Regions from separate parts of the Homo sapiens genome. Here regions 2, 3, 4, 5 and 6 are each linked to region 1. The links are contacts of gene promoters, found by promoter capture Hi-C in blood cells and fetal thymus (Javierre and others, 2016). All regions are on one chromosome and are shown on one strand. Each heading gives the region's core, a stretch centred on a gene start or on the middle of the fragment in contact. The rest is flanking DNA. Distances are from core to core; before and after follow the strand shown.

Evidence for each region. The method cuts DNA at HindIII sites, captures the fragments that hold promoters and counts their contacts. A CHiCAGO score of 5 or more calls a contact.
Region 2: a fragment that was not itself captured here is called in contact with the fragment with the promoter of KANSL1L in region 1 in 1 of 17 cell types (neutrophils); the score reaches 7.6 in neutrophils.
Region 3: a contact is called between a fragment that was not itself captured here and the fragment with the promoter of KANSL1L in region 1, in 2 of 17 cell types (naive B cells and neutrophils). The highest score is 8.6, in naive B cells.
Region 4: a contact is called between a fragment that was not itself captured here and the fragment with the promoter of KANSL1L in region 1, in 1 of 17 cell types (neutrophils). The highest score is 9.5, in neutrophils.
Region 5: a contact is called between a fragment that was not itself captured here and the fragment with the promoter of KANSL1L in region 1, in 3 of 17 cell types (M1 macrophages, naive CD4 T cells and M2 macrophages). The highest score is 5.4, in M1 macrophages.
Region 6: a fragment that was not itself captured here is called in contact with the fragment with the promoter of KANSL1L in region 1 in 1 of 17 cell types (M2 macrophages); the score reaches 6.9 in M2 macrophages.

Annotation. Positions count from the first base shown.
Region 1 is chr2:210,169,920-210,173,186 of GRCh38, forward strand. KANSL1L (KAT8 regulatory NSL complex subunit 1 like) reads right to left here and starts at 1,490. Exons shown (of 15, transcript NM_152519.4): 1 at 1,230-1,490. RefSeq lists enhancers at 515-1,149, 577-756, 1,150-1,785, 1,786-2,419 and silencers at 947-1,256, 1,377-1,706. The HindIII fragment of the contact is 7,802 bases long and covers 1-3,267 here.
Region 2 is chr2:208,299,660-208,302,926 of GRCh38, forward strand. PIKFYVE (phosphoinositide kinase, FYVE-type zinc finger containing) reads left to right here. Exons shown (of 42, transcript NM_015040.4): 9 at 1,278-1,435; 10 at 2,583-2,694. Among named protein-coding and RNA genes, the nearest start is that of PIKFYVE, 35 kb to the left of the region's middle. The HindIII fragment of the contact is 2,548 bases long and covers 184-2,731 here.
Region 3 is chr2:208,322,552-208,325,818 of GRCh38, forward strand. PIKFYVE (phosphoinositide kinase, FYVE-type zinc finger containing) reads left to right here. Exons shown (of 42, transcript NM_015040.4): 18 at 1,591-1,731; 19 at 2,360-2,486; 20 at 2,719-3,267. Among named protein-coding and RNA genes, the nearest start is that of PIKFYVE, 58 kb to the left of the region's middle. The HindIII fragment of the contact is 5,563 bases long and covers 1-3,267 here.
Region 4 is chr2:208,338,202-208,341,468 of GRCh38, forward strand. It overlaps PIKFYVE (phosphoinositide kinase, FYVE-type zinc finger containing), which reads left to right. Exons shown (of 42, transcript NM_015040.4): 29 at 307-367; 30 at 1,217-1,354; 31 at 1,810-1,930. Among named protein-coding and RNA genes, the nearest start is that of PTH2R, 67 kb to the right of the region's middle. The HindIII fragment of the contact is 7,637 bases long and covers 1-3,267 here.
Region 5 is chr2:208,354,679-208,357,945 of GRCh38, forward strand. It overlaps PIKFYVE (phosphoinositide kinase, FYVE-type zinc finger containing), which reads left to right. Exons shown (of 42, transcript NM_015040.4): 42 at 512-3,267. The coding sequence ends at 627. Among named protein-coding and RNA genes, the nearest start is that of PTH2R, 50 kb to the right of the region's middle. The HindIII fragment of the contact is 3,331 bases long and covers 1-3,253 here.
Region 6 is chr2:208,371,187-208,374,453 of GRCh38, forward strand. It overlaps a transcript of PTH2R not described here. Among named protein-coding and RNA genes, the nearest start is that of PTH2R, 34 kb to the right of the region's middle. The HindIII fragment of the contact is 2,321 bases long and covers 423-2,743 here.

The DNA.
Region 1 (3,267 bases), core at 240-2,739:
TCCTAATACAAGGCATTTCTTCTTTCTTACAATCTCTTAAGACAGAGACCATATTATGAAACTTTACAAAAACGAAACAAGTTTGACATCAGAGAGGTGACTAACCCAAAGAAATGGCTAGTTATTAAGAACGGGAAAGGCAGAGACCACTCACTGTTAAGCCTCTTTCTCAATACTGAATTATTTTTAGAGTCATTTTTTCCTAGTCAGAAATTGCCAGTTTTGTCTGCAGTGCTCACTTCACTTAGGTTTTGTGGCTAACAAACCTGCCCCATCCAGCAATATTTAAAATTATTACTGACCCAAACTCAGATGAAGTTAAGCAAACTGGCTAAAGACGAAGGAAGTTTGTCTCCTAAACCTCGCCAGAACATGAATGTCCTGAAGTTTGGGGAATCAAAAACGGAATGTGCTTACCACAGTTCAAACAAAAAAACAAACAAAAACGGACTCTCCCAGAGTAAGAAAACATTACAAGAACGTCCATCCAGTGCCTGCCCTCCCGACTGCAAAGCCAGCCTCTTTCCTTTCCTGTGGTTTCTGAAACGGCCAGGATACCGCCTGGTATTTCTTGCTACCAAACACCACGCAATCTGACTTTTTCCAGCAAGACCGGTCCCTTCCTCAGCACACCGGTGACACAAACTTGGAAGCACCGTCCCTCAAAAATCCCCTAGATTCTGCTCTATCCCATCTAACTCTAAAGCCCAAATCTACGTTTTCCTGAAAGAAAGTGTGAAATAAATAAAATAGGGGTCTCATCAAATCCAGTGGGCTCCGCCTCAGAGCCGCCTCAAAAGAGCCGTCACCACACCCCCAATGGGTGAGGCTCAGCCGATGAGGCAAGAGGCGGGTCCAGGAAACCACGTGTTCTGCCTTCTGCGCACGCGCCAGCCAAAACAAAAGGGAGGTCTGCCAAGCCCCACCCCCCACGTGACCGGCGTCCAGGTCCGCCCCCACCCCTCCCTAGACCCCTTCCCTCCCCAGCTGCCAAGGCTGTTAGGTTTAGCCGTTTAAATTTGGCTGCGGTCAGACCCCCGCCCTAGAGCGCGATCCCGTGCCGAGACCAGAGTCCAGCAGCCCAGAGGATTCGGGGGGCGAAGGGGCTGCCGGTCGGTCGCCTGACCCGCAAGTCCACCCGGCAGTCTTCTCCCCTCCCCGCGCTGCCGCCGTCCCCAAGAGGGAAGACCCACCCCCGTCATCCCGCCGCTGAGACGCCGGCCACTCGCCTGCTGGGGCGCCCTGGCTCCCCTCCGCCGCCGCACCTTCGGTCCGGCCGTGGTGGGGGCTGCTGAGGTGATCTCTAGCTGCCCGCCCGCCTCCCCCACCCGGGGCGCCGCTGACTCGTCTCCAGAGCGCGCCCCGCTCCCGCCCCGGCCGCCGCCGCCGCCGCCGCCGCCGCCGCCGCCGCCGCCGCCGCCGCGGTTTAACAGTCCGCCCGCTGCCCGCAGCTCCGTGCGGCTCGGGGGGACGGAACCCTGCCGCGGTCTGGGAGCAGTGGGCGGGGCCCGGCGCTAGCCAATGGCAACGGGGGAGGGGCAGCGCCATGCAAATGAAGCGGGTGGCGGGGAAACCCCGGCAGGGGGCGGGGCCTGCAGAAGCGGCTCGGAGTGTTCTGGAAGTGGCAGGAGCACGACTCCCTTAACTCTGGTGCAGGGTTTACCTCGGCTCCCTCGGGACGGGTTCCGTGCAGCTCCTGCTTCCTCCCTTCTCTTTCCCAGTGCCATCCCTGGCGAGGGGGAAAAAAAAAAACACGGCCAGGAGACTTCCCACCCCTGCTTTGCTATTTTTGTACCTCCGTGACAGAAAAACAAAACCCTGAGGAAAAGTCAGGCGACTTCATTCCCTGCCGTCCGCGCCGGGGCCTCGACTACTGCTGGCGTCCGCGGCTTTCGCCCGCCGCTCCACAGGCGAGTTTTAAGAGATTTCTCACAATTGTCAAGTCCGCAAGTCTCCGTGCGTTTGCTTTTATTTGGGCCGTGCGTTCAAATGCGCTCATAATTCTTTCTGACCCTCAGAGGGGCCCTGAAGTAGGTGACAAATTTGCCTTGGATCCAACTGGGTGGTTTTATGATTAAAAAAAAAAAAACAGACAAAGCAGTTTTAAGTCTCTACAAATCTGGTTTGAGTGGCGCTGGACCTAACTCCCCTCTGCAGTAACGCTGTCAAATAAACAAACGGAGTTTATGTGGAGATAGTTGGCCAGCGACACCCAAAAACACTTCTGAGCGTCTTGCACCTGGCCCCGCGAACCGCTCACCACAAAACAAACCTGCACCTGGGCACTTCCCCAGCCAAGAACTCGATTTTTTTAAAACTGAACTCTAAATGTAGCTTCTTAGATGTTGTATCACAGTCTTTCCTAAGCACCGAATTTACACATGAAATGATTTAAGGAACGAAGAGCACTAGGCTTTTTAAGCCAGAAGGATAATAGCCATTATTTTAACCTTATCAATTGGATAAGATCCCGGGGGCGGAAGAGGGGAGAAATCCAAGGAATTGCAGTCATAACAAAGCGTAATCCGTAACATAGATAACTGGAATTGGAAAATTAGCTACTCGTTCCTGGTTCTTCTAGTAGATTGTGATATTACTGAAATAATTTTTATGACCAGCTGCATTTATTGGAGCTATATTTTTTTAATTACTGAATAATTGCACCTCGATATGGGGCAAGGGAAGAATTTTAGGAAATTGATTTACTTTCATTGTAATAAAAATTGTAAGCTAATGATGTGTTGTGAAAAATAATTAAATCAGTAAGTATTTATTGGATATTTACCATATTCAAAGGACTGTCCTAGTCCCTGGGGACAGAAATGCAAAAATGAATAAAGTATTTTTTAAAGTTTTGTTTTTTTAATTAGCAGTTTGAGACATCTAATAAGCATGTGTTAAGATAGATCAAAGGAAGATTCTGGATTTGAGTTGGACGTTTAAAAGACTTAAGAGAGAGGAGGAAGGCATCAATAGTTCAGGAGATAGTGTCCTTGGGTGGTTTGAGGAGATGTTGTGTGAATATTTGGGGGGCAGAAAAGTACATTGTCAACTAGATTGAGTAAATCTTGAATGACAGGAATTCAGATTTTAACCTGAAGGAACTGTAGAGACATCAAATCATTTAATGGTAGTTTTCTCCTGTGAAATAATTTTTTGCTACCAAACAAAATATTTATATATTTGCCAAATGTTTATTGAACACATGTTTTGTGATGGCTAATGAAGATATATTAGTAAACAAATTCCCTGTCCTCATGGAGTTTA
Region 2 (3,267 bases), core at 208-2,707, 1.9 Mb before region 1:
AGATCCCATATTGCTATTTAAGCTTTGAAGCATGTTTGTTATACACATGTAACACTTTTCAGACATTTAATACTATATGTTTATATGAAATAATCAGTTGCTTATTGAATTTATCTGTGCATAAAATACTGTGTTCAATTCTAAGAGTGACTCAGAGAAATGGAAGGTATGGCTGTGTCCTCAAGCTTATAATTCAAAAGTAGAAATAAGAGCCAGGTGTGGTGGCATGCACGTGTAGTCCCAGCTACTTGGGAGGCTAGGGTGAGAGGACTCTTGAGGCCAGGGGTTTGAGGCTGTAGGGTGCTGTGATCATGGCTGTGAATAGCCACTGCACTCCAGCCTGGGCAACATAGCAAGACCTTGTCTCTAAGACAACAAACAAACCAGCAAACCCACAAAAGGTAGAAATAAGATCAGTGGGAAGATCCTTAATAGTGGAAGTAGTAATACTTTAATAATAAAAAAGTGTCAAATAAATAAATGACTATATGTCATGTAAGAATTCAAAAAAACAGAAAGCTCATTACTAATGAGGGAATCAGAAAAAGGCTTAAACTGAAGGACTTGAACTGGACCTTGAGAGATGGAATCATTTTGGATAGGCAGTGAGGAAGGTGAATCTTATTTAAAGGTGTGAAGAAAGATACAGAGGTAAGAATAAGCATGACATTTTCCATGGCCAGAAGTAGGATTTTTTAATTGGGAGAGAGTTTAAGTAGGAGTCTGGGGGCAATGAGAAAGGAAAGTTATTTGGGACTACCTGGTGGAAGGCAATGAATTCTGTACTTACAGGTGTAGATTTGAAACTTTAGTTGCTGAGGAACATTCAGAATTTTTTTGAGCAGGGAGTAATTTACTGAAGCTCTTCTTTTTAAAAAACTCATCTGTCAGTTGGGTACACAGTGAGAATCTGGTGGAGTGAAAGCCTCTAGGAACAGTTACCTTAGGTTAGTGTGATTAACTGTTGTCTCCCTCTGCCTTGCCCCATCTCCAAAGAAGAATACATAAATAGGAGATTGATAATATGTGCCATTGACTGAAAAAAGAAGTATTTGGAATAGTTGGTTTTCAAGAGAAAAAGTTATGTTTGGAATTAGATGAGCAGAGTTCAAGCTGTTCCCACGTATATGACATTTGTATTAAATTGTGTGAGTTAGCTACCATAAAGAAATCCAAGTTAGGTTTCCTTTTATGAGTCTAAAAATCACAGGAAAACATCTGAAAAGGTATATAGCATTTTTCTCAAGGGTAACTACTTGCTGTTAATGTGATTGCAGGACAGTGTGCAGTTAAAAGACCTGTGGAAAAAAATCTGCCATCACAGCAGTGGAATGGAGTTTCAGGATCACCGCTACTGGTTGAGAACGCATCCCAACTGCATTGTAGGAAAGGAATTAGTCAACTGGCTAATCCGAAATGGGCATATTGCCACAAGGTATTCTGATCTTAGAAGGTTTCAATATTATTTGTTTATTTTGAATGAGAAAACATATTTGAAGATAGTAAGAGTTACAGATTTCTTTGTAGAGTTAGGGTGCTCTTTGTTTTATGTAATTGATGGTTTAGGGTGCTAATTACTTAACCCTCCTCCAATCTGAGTTTTAACCAGCAGAGAACAGATGCAAGGAGTACAAGGAGCCAAATAGGATCTTAATTTACCTTATTAAAAGCAGAAGAACTCTCTAGCAAAGGAGGATTAGAGAAGGTAGCTGGAACCTAAGGCCAAAGAATTCCCCAGCTACTGTTCACTAATCTAGACAGGTTGTAACCTGTGTTGAGTATTTGATCCATAAGCTATGCCTGTCGGGTCCTAGCTTGCCTCACAAATCATTTATAAAAAAGAGTAACAGACAGGTCCTGCTTTTCAAATACATGTATCCCCTAGCTTTTACTATTTTCTCAGATTAGCTACTCCTCCTCTCATGGGAAGAAAAAGGTACGTAATGAAGTAAAGAGAGAAATAGCTTTAAGCAGTAAAGCCCTGGTTGCAATTTTGGCTGTATATATTTTTTAGCTTTGTGCTTTTAGTCACATTATTCAATCTCTGAGACTTCTTCACCATGAGGAAAATTGTGTGGTCCTGTGAATAAACTGTGGGGGATGAAATAATAGTGGCTGAAGTGCTTTATAAATTGTGAAATGCCATATAATGTATGGTGTCATTAAGTGTCTATTTCATATATATATATACACACACACACATTTTATGGCTGTATCTGTAATATTTGGTATTGTCTTATTAAAACTAAGCTCCTTGAAGGTAGGAGCTTTTCTCAACATTTTAAAATCTGTTAAGTATAGGGTTGTGCGTGCATTGAATACTCAGTCAATGCTTGCTGTTATTAAAATTAGGTTTTGTTGGGACTGCCTTACCAGTAGTTTCTTCTCCTTTACTATAGTACCTGGAAGAATCTTTTAGTTTGCTTTAACTCTCTCGTTTCGTCCTTTACTTATCCAAGGGCCATTTGAAATTCTAACTCTGATTAGAACTGAAAAAAAATATTTTAAGGTTGTGTCTTATCTGGTACTTAACTATTCTGACTGACTTTTAAAACTTTTCATTTTTGTGGGTCTTGATTCAGGGCACAAGCTATAGCAATTGGACAAGCAATGGTTGATGGACGTTGGCTGGATTGTGTTAGTCATCACGACCAGCTTTTCAGAGATGAGTATGCGCTGTATAGACCACTGCAGGTACTTTTCAGTGTTTACTGCCAATTAGAATGTAGCAAGCTTATTTTATAGTCTTTCTTCATCAGTGGGAATAAAAAGTAGTTTATTAGAAGATGATTTTTCTAACATTTTTTCCTGCTGTTTGAGGAAAGTTAAAACTTTTTTTACTTGGTAGGCAGCAGTGATGAAAAAGCTGCCATTAGAATCAAACATTTTATTGTTTACTTTAAATTTGATCAGACAATAAAAAAGGAAAAAGATAATCAAACACTTTTTTCAGTTGGTGTGGTAGTTCTTAAATTTGGGTTTATGGTCTTTATAGTTGCTTATCATTTAACTTTAATGGTTTTTGGTTTTATTAGGCCTATGCTTTTAGAACTGAGAGTATAAATAATAAAATGAAAAATTTTATGGCATCTATTGAAATCATTTTGACTCTAGAACTATTGTATAACTAGTGATGATGGCTGGGTACGGTGGCTCACGCTTGTAATCCCAGCACTTTGGGAGGCTGAGGTGGGTGCATCACCTGAGGTCAGGAGATCGAGACCATCCTGGCTAACATGGTGAAATCCCGTCTCTACTAAAAATACA
Region 3 (3,267 bases), core at 195-2,694, 1.8 Mb before region 1:
CCTGAAACTCTTGTCAGCATAATCAAGTTTAGAATGATGAATGAGATTCTTACTGTGTTTGCATTAATTTGCTTACAGACTTATTTGTGGATGAAGAAAATTTAGTCTAAGATTGATAATAGTCAAGCTATCTTGATATATATATATATATTTTTTTTATTACACTTTAAGTTCTAGGGTACATGTGCACAATGTGCAGGTTTGTTACATATGTATACATATGCCATGTTCATGTGTTGCACCCATTAACTTGTCATTTACATTAGGTATATCTCCTAATGCTATCCCTCCCCCCTCCCCCACCCCATGACAGGCCCCCGTGTATGATGTTCCCCTTCCTGTGTCCAGGTGTTCTCAATGTTGAATTCCCACCTATGAGTGAGAACATGCGGTGTTTGGTTTTTTGTCCTTGTGATAGTTTGCTGAGAATGTTGGTTTCCAGCTTCATCCATGTCCCTACAAAGGACATGAACTCATCCTTTTTTATGGCTGCAGAGTATTCCATGGTGTGTATGTGCCACATTTTCTTTTTTATTTTTATTTTATTTTTTATTTTATTATTATTAGTAGTAGTATACTTTAAGTTTTAGGGTACATGTGCACAATGTGCAGGTTAGTTACATATGTATACATGTGCCGTGCTGGTGTGCTGTACCCATTAACTCGTCATTTAGCATTAGGTATATCTCCTAATGCTATTCCTCCCCCCTCCCCCCACCCCACAACAGTCCCCAGAGTGTGATGTTCCCCTTCCTGTGTCCATGTGTTCTCATTGTTCAATTCCCATGTATGAGTGAGAACATGTGGTGTTTGGTTTTTTGTCCTTGCGATAGTTTACTGAGAATGATGATTTACAATTTCATCCACGTCCCTACAAAGGACATGAACTCATCCTTTTCTCTGGCTGCAGAGTATTCCATGGTGTGTATGTGCCACATTTTCTTAATCCAGTCTATCATTGTTGGACATTTGGGTTGGTTCCAAGTCTTTGCTATTGTGAATAGTGCCGCAATAAACATACTTGTGCATGTGTCTTTATAGCAGCATGATTTATAATCCTTTGGGTATATACCCAGTAATGGGATGGCTGGGTCAAATGGTATTTCTAGTTCTAGATCCCTGAGGAATCACCACACTGTCTTCCACAATGTTGAACTAGTTTACAGTCCCACCAACAGTGTAAAAGTGTTCCTATTTCTCCACATCCTCTCCAGCACATGTTGTTTCCTGACTTTTTAATGATTGCCATTCTATCTGGTGTGAGATGGTATCTCATTGTGGTTTTGATTTGCATTTCTCTGATGGCCAGTGATGATGAGCATTTTTTCATGTGTCTGTTGGGTGCATAAATGTCTTCTTTTGAGAAGTGTCTGTTCATGTGCTTCGCCCACTTTTTGATGGGGTTGTTTGTTTTTTTCTTGTAAATTTGTTTGAGTTTTTTGTAGATTCTGGATATTAGCCCTTTGTCAGATGAGTAGATTGCAAAAATTTTCTCCCATTCTGTAGGTTGCCTGTTCACTCTGATGATATTTTAATATGTCCAGATACTGCATTTTACCAGGTGTAATATTTCTGATTTATCTTACTTAGGAAAGGGAATTCTTGAAGAATTATGTCCAGCGAATAGTTGATGTTCGACCCACCTTGGTTCTTGTTGAGAAAACAGTGTCTCGGATTGCCCAGGACATGTTATTGGAACATGGCATTACTTTGGTCATTAATGTAAAGTCAGTGAGTGTTTTTAATTTTCTATTGTATTTTAAAAAAATCACAGCTTTTAAATTTATATGCACGTATGGTAGGTATACAAGAATCTTTTTTTCTTTGCTGTTCTATTTGTATTGAAAGTGGGACAGAAGATATGGCACCTATTTCATTAAGATTCAGAATTTCAGACTGGAACTGGAAGAAAGTATAATTGATTATGTAATACTTATTGGTGTCTACAAGACCAAAAGTGAAATGGACATTAGTTAATCACTAGGTATTTGTTGATCCTTCATTTTTGTTGGAGAATTGCTCAAGCAGAAGACGTTCTCTCCCTTGAAAAGTTTACCCTGTGCAGAACAGGGGCCAATTCTAGGAAGTTGTTTTTCTCCCCACATTATCTTGTGGTAATCCATGATGCTTAAGTGCATTTTTATAATGTTATTAATATGAGTAAGGTTTCAGTGGGCATATATTGATTACTAAGCAACTAAGTGTAGAAGAATCCAGAATAAAAAAATTCATCATATATTTATTAAAAAGGAAATTTGTGAATGTTATTTTTTAATTTTTCCATTACTTTTCCAGATTAAATTTACAAAGATTTTTATTCTTCTCTAGTTTTGTAATACAATGTTTTTCTGTTTTGTAGCAAGTTTTGGAACGAATCAGTCGAATGACCCAAGGTGATTTAGTGATGTCAATGGACCAGCTGCTTACGAAACCACACCTGGGCACTTGTCACAAATTTTATATGCAGATATTTCAGTTGCCTAATGGTGAGTGATCTTTAGCATAGATTGACCTGAGGAAAAGAGTTAACTTATCACTACTACAATGTTTACTTACTAGGAAATACCTATTAATAGTGGGTAAGTGAGGATAGGCAACTGTGATCTTATTCATGTAAGAGTTTTTCTTTTACAGATATTAAGAGAGTGAATTAATTCTATTTGTACTTCTGGATTGCCACCTCCACCATCTTAACTTTCTGTTTGTTTTTGTTTGTAGAACAAACCAAGACACTGATGTTTTTTGAAGGTTGTCCACAGCACCTAGGCTGTACAATCAAGCTAAGAGGAGGCTCTGATTATGAGCTGGCTCGAGTTAAGGAGATCCTAATATTTATGATCTGTGTTGCTTATCATTCTCAACTAGAAATATCCTTTCTCATGGATGAATTTGCTATGCCTCCCACATTAATGCAAAACCCTTCATTCCATTCCCTGATTGAGGGACGAGGGCATGAGGGGGCTGTCCAAGAGCAGTACGGTGGAGGTTCCATCCCCTGGGATCCTGACATCCCTCCTGAGTCTCTGCCCTGTGATGATAGCAGTTTGCTGGAATTGAGGATTGTGTTTGAGAAGGGTGAGCAGGAAAATAAAAATCTTCCGCAGGCTGTTGCCTCTGTGAAGCATCAAGAACATAGCACAACAGCTTGCCCGGCGGGTCTCCCTTGTGCTTTCTTTGCACCTGTACCGGAATCATTGTTGCCACTCCCTGTGGATGACCAACAAGATGCTTTAGGCAGCGAGCAGCCAGAGACTTTGCAGCAAACAG
Region 4 (3,267 bases), core at 553-3,052, 1.8 Mb before region 1:
CCAATTTTTTTTTTAAATTTTAGAAAATCGGTATGTTACGTGTTTAAATGTTACTTATATTAATGGGTTTATTATTTATAAATGAGTTCATGCACATTTAATAACTTTCTCTGTTTTAATTTCTAATAAGGTAAAAATTTCTAAGGTAAACAAAAGCTAATTAAAAATATTAAGGGGGTTTTTAGTAATTTTTTAACGGTATAAATGGGTCCTGAGACCAAAAAGTTTAAGATTCACTGGATTAAAAAATTTTTTGAATGTGATTTTCATGTTTTCCATAAGAACAAAGTATTTACTTCTCTACAGATAAGTGCGATGGATGCATCTCCACGGAATATTTCTCCAGGACTTCAGAATGGAGAAAAAGGTTGGTTCTTGAGTCTGGTGATCACTTGCCGTAGGATTTAAAGAAATTTCTTATTGTATAAGTTGTTTTAAACTGTTTGAGCAGTTTTTCCGATGCTGTTGTTCATAGACTTCTTTTCCTTCCTGTAGAGCACTTGTAATCCTATCAGATTAAGATTATCATATAGTGTATTGCAATAAGATAAATCAGGTTATAGAAATACATGAAATATAAAGAAGGCTGCTATTAGGGGAAGAAAAAACAGAAAAAAGTAAATTGAATTTTTTTTGCTTATTACAAAGTCAATCCCCAGGTTTCATTGCAAAAATCTTATAAAGTTTAATTTACATTTTTAATGTCACTAAAATATTGTCTAGACCTAAGATGTCTTTCACAGTATTTCATTGAATAACTTGGTGTCATCATAGAAACTTTGTGGGGAAATTTACATAGACTGTAGAACCAGGAGCTCAACTTACAATTCTTGGCATTTTTCTATTATAATTGCTTTTTCTCTCCCAGAATAAGCATGCCGTCTTTCTCAGAGTGTCCTAATTTCATTCTCTATTAAACTAAAAACTAATATTTAGGTAGGCATTGTGGTATAATGGATAGCGTGTTGGATAGGAGTCAGTCTTGGTTGACAGTTGCGGTACTGCTACCAGGATTTGATTGTAGTCAAGTCATATATAATCTTTCTGGATTTTTGTGTCCATTTCTATGACATGAGCTATATGACCTAGATGATTTTTAAAAAGTAAAAATTCTACCTTTTAGGAAGTAGGCATATGAATGAGCATTTAAAAAATATTAGGTAGACATGGACTTAATGTATGTAAATGACTCATTTAAGATTGTGTTTTTCTTTAGAGGATCGCTTCTTAACAACTTTGTCCAGCCAGAGCTCCACCAGTTCTACTCATCTCCAATTGCCTACGCCACCTGAAGTCATGTCTGAACAGTCAGTGGGAGGGCCCCCTGAGCTAGATACAGCCAGCAGTTCCGAAGGTAGAGGTTAAGTCACTTTTACCATATTTCATTGTATCTAAGACTGAAAGATATATCATTGATTTACATGAATTACAGCCATTTCTCTAAGGACAGATATTTGCTTCATAATAACAGATTCATGCCTTGCTTTCTGTTTAGGTGGTAACTACTTAAATTATAGTATAAACTTTGAAATTAACTTTAAAATTGCTATTTAACTCGGGTGTAATAGCCACAGTGCTTCAGAGATGTTTAAAAAAAACAAGTGTCCCTTGGAGTCCATGCTGTGTATGCTTCACTGTTGTTTCCTGTTTTATCCCATAGTGGTCTTTTCCCTTGATCAGAAATTTTAAACTGTTATTGGTATAGTATACATATGTCCATATTCCGAAAGGAAAAGAACCAAAGTCAGCAGTTTATACTTCTTATTCTCTGTGAATATTAATATATAAGTAGACTATTTTTCATTTTAGATGTGTTTGATGGGCATTTGCTGGGATCCACAGACAGCCAAGTGAAGGAAAAGTCAACCATGAAAGCCATCTTTGCAAATTTGCTTCCAGGAAATAGCTATAATCCTATTCCATTTCCTTTGTAAGTATTATTAAAACCAGTGGCTCTTAGCAGGGGGGTTATTTTTCCTTAGTTGCTCGCTTCATATTTAAATATATTTATCTGATGCATGATTTTTCAATCCTAAATTTTATTTCATTTTAGTAAAAGAGATGTCTTTTGATACAATGTAATTTGTAGAATATATAATCATTATGATATAGTAGATGAGTGGATAAAGCACTAGCCAGTGTTACTTATAAATGTTTGAATTACTTGTTCTGGAAACACTTGTTTGTTTATCTTTTTTCAAAGATATGTGGCTATATCCACTGATTTAATAATTATAAAAACATATTGCTGGTTATATATGAGGTTGGTAGTTGATTTGCTGGGACATGGCATTGTCCTAGCACTGATGATGAACTACAGTGACTTGTACAAGTTTTCATGTGATCTTTTTTTTATGGGGTGCACTCAAATTTGGAAAGAATATAGGCTGGCTGTGAAAGTTTATTTTTCTTCCACTGGTTGACCCATGTGGCTATCAAATGCTGCCCTTGTTATGGAACAAGTATATCCAAAAAGTGGACATTTTTGTTAATAAGGCCTTTTATTTTATTAACTGACTTACATATTTATTCAATCAGTATTTAAACTTTTATTTAGTGCCTGTTTAAGTGTCCTGTGATGTAGAATAAGATTTGTAAGGAACTGTCATCACTCTTAGGAGCTCATAATCTTTGGGAAGATACAGTTAGGGCTCACAGTACAGTATGTGATATGTTACATGACAGTAAAATATAAAAGGTCCCTTTTTTCTCTACTTTAGACCTGATTATATCAGTTTCTTGATTGGGCTTGGATCCCTCTTATGTTATGGTCTTTGTTCATGCTCTCACATTTATTTTTATTTTTTTAATTTTTATTATTTTTGAGACAGAGTCTCCCTCTGTCACCCAGGCTGGAATGTAGTGGTGTGATCTTGGCTCATTGCAACCTCTGCCTCCTAGATTCAAGTGATTCTCCTGCCTCAGCTTCCCAAGTAACTGGGACTGCAGGTGTGCGCCACCACACCTGGCTAATTTTCGTATTTTTAGTAGAGACGAGGTTTCACCATATTGGCCAGGCTGCTCTCGAACTCCTGACCTCAGGTGATCTGCCCACCTCTGTCTCCCAAAGTACTGAGCTACTGGACCCGGCCCTTTAAACTTTTTTTTTTAATATAGTTTTTTTCTTTTTGTTTGTTTCTCTTCTCTCTAAACCACTTTTTGTGAAACACAGTCTTTTTTAATCATTCAGTCCTGTTCTTTCTAAGAAGAATTTACTAGACCTTCCCCCTTACCTCCTGCTCCAGTCAGAGTAGGTTTCTATTATAT
Region 5 (3,267 bases), core at 338-2,837, 1.8 Mb before region 1:
TGTATTTCTTATCAGTTAAAATTTTAAAAGTGGATACTGATTCTTTTTTTTAGTTGTAAAAAATAAGTGGTTATCATTGATTTCATTGTCATTTCTAAAGTGACCAAACAATAATGAGAATTATATAGGTGGGGAAATATTGGGTGTAAATATGTGTTAAAATGTCAGAGGTTCTCAAAAAGATTTTTTAAAAAGCCAGATGTTCTGAATAAGAGATTGTCTTTAATTAACACTTGAGACTTCCAAGTTCTCTAAGCACTGTTAGCCTCATTTGTGCTCTTAGACATCGCTCATCTCTAGGCAGGAGCTAGTCTTTTTAAACAGAAACTCGTACCAGGTAGGACTTTGTCCCATGGCATGTGGCACAACAGATAACCTTTCCTGCCCACTCAGACTGCTTCTGCATGTGTATCTTTATGGCAGTTTATATGAAAGAACATGGTCAGTTGACTTCAGTTGCCCAATCAATTATATAACAGCTTTTTCCCCCTTTTCTCTTTCATAATCTCAGGTAAAATGCCAACAGTGGTGTCTCCGGAGTTGTACAGGACTAGGTTTTGTGAGGCAATGGACAAGTATTTCCTAATGGTACCAGACCACTGGACAGGCTTGGGTCTGAATTGCTGAAATCAAGCACATATTTTGAAATGGACTGTGAAGGAAAAGGGGACAGGAACAAAGGACCAAAAATAAGCTACATGTTTTATTTCTTCATCGTGTTCACCACTGTATGCCAAGGCTTTTCAGTTCTGTGGCTGTTTAGACTGTCCGTAATGGAATGGTAAAACTCCATGAATTTGCACTTTGGTTTTTGATACCTGTGGAGCTGTCTGTAGGTTGGGAAGTGGCATGAAAATTTTCTTAAGCTAAAATACAGACATGTTTCAAAGGGCTAAAGTTGGAGATGAGTAGATAGGGTGAAAAATGGGTTAAATTTGCTAGCTTAATTGTTTTAAGAAGAAAACAGTGTCTCATAAATTGACTATCCTGGCATCACATTTAACATGTTATCTACTTAGAAAGCATTTGTAGAGCTGCTGAATTTGTTTTGTGTTTTTCTGTAATAATTTAATGTTACTTATTATCAGAATTTCTGAAACCTTTACAAAAATTCTGATTTATTCCATTAATGGCCGGTTAAACACGTGGGCATTTATTGTTTTATTGAGGAATTTGACTTAAACTGGGAATCCTGTCATGTTGTTTATCTTTCCAGCTTGCCTGTTTTTGAGTATGTTTGATGTTTTTAAAATTTTGTCTTCTCTGTGGAAGACAGGAGGCTACAGCAATTAACTTTAAGCCTCCTTTTAGAGATATTTTTAAAACTTGTTTAAAATTTTTGTGCAATTCATATATTAAATTGCACTTACTTGCATACGCTCATATTCTAGGGTTTTTTCTCTATTTTTAGGGTATCATAGTAAATCATTAGTAAATGAGTCTGTAGTTACTAAACCCTAATGGAATAATTATTAATGAAAGATTTTTGAAATATAAAAAATAAATTAGGCCCAATCCAAGAAATTGAGTGAGAAGGAAACACTTGTTTTATTCACAGAGGTAAAGTGTCTTTTCAATATAACCAGCAATTTAGGTGGCATCTATAAAATAAAAAATTTCTACTGTGGACATCCCCTTTTCCAACTTTCTACATAATGGCTAGTTCTGACTACTAAGAAATGTTAAGAAATAGGCCAAGTGCGGTGGCTCACGCCTATAATCCTATCACTTTGGGAGGCCTAGGCAGGCAGATCACCTGAGGTCAGGAGTTCAAGACCAGCCTGGCCAACATGACGAAACCCCATCTCTACTAAAAAGACAAAAAATTAGCTGGGCATGGTGGCATATACCTGTAACCCCAACTACTTGGGTGGCTGAGGCAGGAGAATTGTTTGAACCTGGGAGGCGGAGGCTGCAGTGAGCTGGGATTACACCATTGCATTCCAGCCTGGGCAACAGAGCAAGACTGTCTCAAAAAACAAAACGAAACAAAAAAAGAAAGTTATTCTTAGTAAGGAACTTCTTGTTTAATAGCATTTTTGTTTATTTTAAAAAGTGATCAGAAGTAGTAAACTATCTTTGAGGAAATACTGTAACCCCAGAATATTTCCTCTTGACTTCTTTTTGTAACAAGGATAATTTAGGGATTTATAAAGTTGTAAGGATTTCACTGTTTTTGGACTGCCTATAATAATAGCACATTAACCTTCACATAATAAGAAATCTGGACAAGTTCAGTTACACAGTATGATGAATACTTGAATTAGGAACATTGTGGAAAATTTGCTTTAGAGAATCAAGGCAGTAGTTTGGTATTTGGTGCTTATTAAAAATGTGGTTTGTTTTGAACTGGAAGCAAGTTGACCAAGGACTTATGACTAATGTGATGCTAAGTTCCACTTGGCCCCTTTTAAAAACGTGTATGTGCCTTTTGAAGATACACAAAACACTGAGGATTTTAGTTTTGAAATCAAAGACTATTAAAGGAGCTGTACAGAGGTAAAAAAATAAATGTGGAACATTATTAACTTACTTTGTGTCTAGGAACAATGGATTTTGTATCTGATTTAAAATGCCAACACTGTTTTGTCTCTGTTCATTTTTTCTGTGAGGATACTTAAGGTTATTATTCCTGTCTGTTTCCTGTACTCCCCTAGTCATGAGCACTTGAAGTACAAGGTGTCTCCCCCTAGGTGCAATTAGGTTGTTTCTTTGTTTTTAGTTTCAATTCTATGTGCATAGCAGGAATGCTCCACAGGAATGGCTTCTGACAATAATCTGTCCTGTTGATTTTGTTTTCCTTGCCCATGACTTGAACAACTGTGTTTTAAAGTACTGTAGTCTAGTAGGTAACTTTGTGGCAAAAATTTTCAATATAATACATTCTGAAACAATAGTTGCTGCCTTGCAAAGGTAATCTCTCATTTTAAAATTGGACAGTATTAATGAAGGGGAAATATACAATTTATTTCTATTGAGTGGTAGAACTATATGTCTGGTCCCTTGCTGCTCTTGTTTAGGCCACTATCATAGATATATTTCAAATATTGTACTACTCAGTGTTAAGTATTGAATGACTGTTTCCCTTTCCTTCAAGGCCTAGAGTATATTCTGAAAATTTAGGAATGAGGAAGAAATCTTAATACTTCCTTCCTTAACATACAACATGAGTCCCGAGAATAATTGATAGTAGCAAGAGAAAACTATGTCAGTAACATGTTGCTTTGTATAAAAATCTTATTTATAAATGTGAAGCTTTTTGATGCC
Region 6 (3,267 bases), core at 333-2,832, 1.8 Mb before region 1:
TCAAACCATATCACCACCAGAAAGGCATAAAGATTACTTTAAACTGAAAATATTGGAACAAACAATCGCTGCGGAAAGCAGCCTTATCTGACCGAAAGCAGACCTGTCCAAGAGTTCTGCTATCATCAACTCCTTCTGAGGGACTTTCCAGACAGCGAGGTGACAGATGTTTACAAACGTGACGTTAAAAAATAAAGTTGTGTAAATGAGTCTTATCAGAACCTTTTATACTTTCTCACTGAAGCCTCAGTTGGTATATAAACCCTTACCACTGGCTGTTTGGGAAGTGACTCCTTACAGAGTGCTCCCTCAGGCATGGAGAATAAACTTTTCTCCTGTTAATGTATTTTCAACTAATTCGCAGGCCCTAGACCACTCAGATCTAAGTTGACAGATGAAATGTTTTCCTCCCAACATGACCAAGCTTATAGTGCTTTTATGGTATATCTGTAGAGATTGCGGTCAGGCATAACATTGTTTGTTAGGGTTGCAGTACCTTTCAGGAAATGCTCAAAGTTTAATTGATTTAGGGGACTTTCACTGGATGAGATGCCTCTCTGAGTCATCATAGGTTGCAAAGTATTAGTTTTTTGCCACTCACTGTGTGTTGTGATATGACATACTCATAATGGGGTAGGACAAGATGTCAGTTTTGCTTCCAAACTTTCCTTACTTGTTTCCTTTTTGGTTCACCACTAATGTTGAAGAAATGCAAGATGGAAAATCTCAATAGTTGACACTGATTGATTGATTGAGATGGAGTCTCACTCTGTCACCTGGGCTGGAGTGCAGTGGCGTGATATCGGCTCACTGCAACCTCCACCTCCCAGGTTCAAGCAGTTCTCCTGCCTCAGCCTCCCGAACAGCTGGGATTACAGGTGCCCGCCACTACTCTCAGCTAATTTTTTGTATTTTTAGTAGAGATGGGGTTTCACCATGTTGGCCAGACTAGTCTCGAATTCCTAACCTTGTGATTCGCCCGCCTCGGCCTCCCAAGGTGCTGGGATTACAGGCATGAGTAGTTGACATTTATTAAGTGTTTATATGTGATAAGCACTGTTAGATTATCCCATGTAATACATCACTTGATTGATTTAAGAGATTGTCATTTGAAAGATTAAAGAATATTTCCCAGAAAGGATGCTTGGTCAAGCCTCATCATCCTGGGATGGATGGGACCTTGGTTTTGGGCAAGTTTATTACAATTTAAGACTATTCTAGGTCATGGAAGTGTGTGTTAGGACATATAAGTAGTTTTCTTGTCCAGAATACTTTGTAATAATATACCCTAAGTTTGATCAGCTTTTTGGCATTCACTTAATTAAAATGTTCACAAGTAGGTACATTTTTAGAATTGTTAAGTAATATACTATTTGTAGTAGCAAAACACTACAAACAAATACCTAATATAATAAGAGGGAGTGGTTGAATAAACTAGGGCATGTCAACTAAAAAACATATTTGAAATGCAGGGAAAATGCTTACTCTAGGCAATAGTTACAACTTTTGTCCATTATAGGTACATAAAGGAAAAGAGTACACAAAGAATTCTATTAATGATGAAATTAGGAACAATGTTCCCATCCCCAATTTATACCCAAAAGAAAATATGTTCTGGCTGGGCGCGGTGGCTCATGCCTGTAATCCTAGCAGTTTGGGAGGCTGAGACAGGTGGATCGCCTGAGCTCAGGAGTTCAAAACCAGTCTGGGCAACATGGCAAAACCCCGTCTCCACCAAAAATACAAAAAATTAGCCAGGCGTGATGGCACATGCCTGTAGGTCCAGCTACTTGGGAGGCCGAGGTGGGAGGATCGCTTGAGCTCGGGATGTGGAGGCTGCAGTGAGCAAAGCTCACACCACTGCACTCTAGCATGGGTGACAGAGTGAGACCCCGTCTCAAATAAATAAATAAATAAATGAAAACTTATATTCTATAACATGTATTCTTATGTCTTTGGCTAAAACAAAAGAGAAGAAAAATAAGTAGAGAGCTAAGTGAAGTGAAGTGTCTTGAAACAGATAAGCCATAAAGTGAGATATATGAGTAAATGAGTAGTTGCTGGCCTAGGAATTGTTTCTGATGTTTTCACCTATTGAAAGAATTTTTTTCTTTTTGTAAATCTTTTTTTTGGTTTGTTAAACTGAAAAATAAAAGCAATGAAGAGATAATATTGCTGTAGTAATGTCCCTTAGTGCATCCTTGGAGTTAGTTGTCTTGAATTTGGCCTGCTCTGATTGTCATTTGCTGTTTGCTGCATTGAAAAAATTTCAGATTTACAAAAATATGTGTGCCAGGGTGGAGGAAATTTTTAACTTGATGAATTCTCACCTTTAGGACACTGTCTGCTCTTATATGGCACTTAGCAAGATGCTGCAACAATTGTCCCTGCTCATACTGTTGGAGGAAGAGGGTATTTGCAGGGAGATTGCTGGAGTCAAGATGATCCAAATTTAAATTGCAGTGGTGAGCAGTGGCCACTAGAGGGCTGTGAAGTACTTAATTCTAAAATTTCCACATTTTAATCTGGAGCAGAGGAAACTCTGGAAGGACCACTGGGACTAAGGGAGCTCAATCCCAAACATCTTTATCTGAGCCCTAAATGTCTTCTACGTTATTCTTTGACAATACTTTGTTACATCTCAGAATTTGTAGTTTTGAGGTGGAGGTTTAAGTTAGAAATAGTTTAATATATTCTATTCCAGAATATAATTCGCTTTTTTCCAAATGAAACTGGCACTAAAAGCTTTTTACTTGAAAGCAAATACACTTCATATGCTTTATGTATTTTTGTCCCTATATCATTGAAATAGTAGATTCAAGGCTGTTTGTAAAAATAAGTGACTATACTGCATATAGGAATAGCCCCACCTTAAAGACTTTGATTTTAAGGACATTAAGTGGGAGGGTCTTTTTTGCCTTTTTTTTTTTGACTATCAAAATACTTTCACATTTCTTCAATTCAAAGAACAACTGTTCTAAATTTAGAAGACAGACAAGTGAAAGAGAATATGCTGCCATTTCCGATGGTTCTTTTTTACTCTTGATCCATCACTCTCCTGTCTTTGGCTGACTCTTTCTCCAAAAAGTACCCCTTATTTTTCCTATGCCTTTAACTTCTGTTTTACTTACTCTATTGTAGAACTTTGAGAAGTTGTACACCACATTCACTGCTACCTCACATTAACTCTGCTTACTCATTGCAGTCTGCCTTCTGCTCCTCAATGATTGCTCCTGTGAAGGTCATCTTTGGTTTAGCACTTGTTTG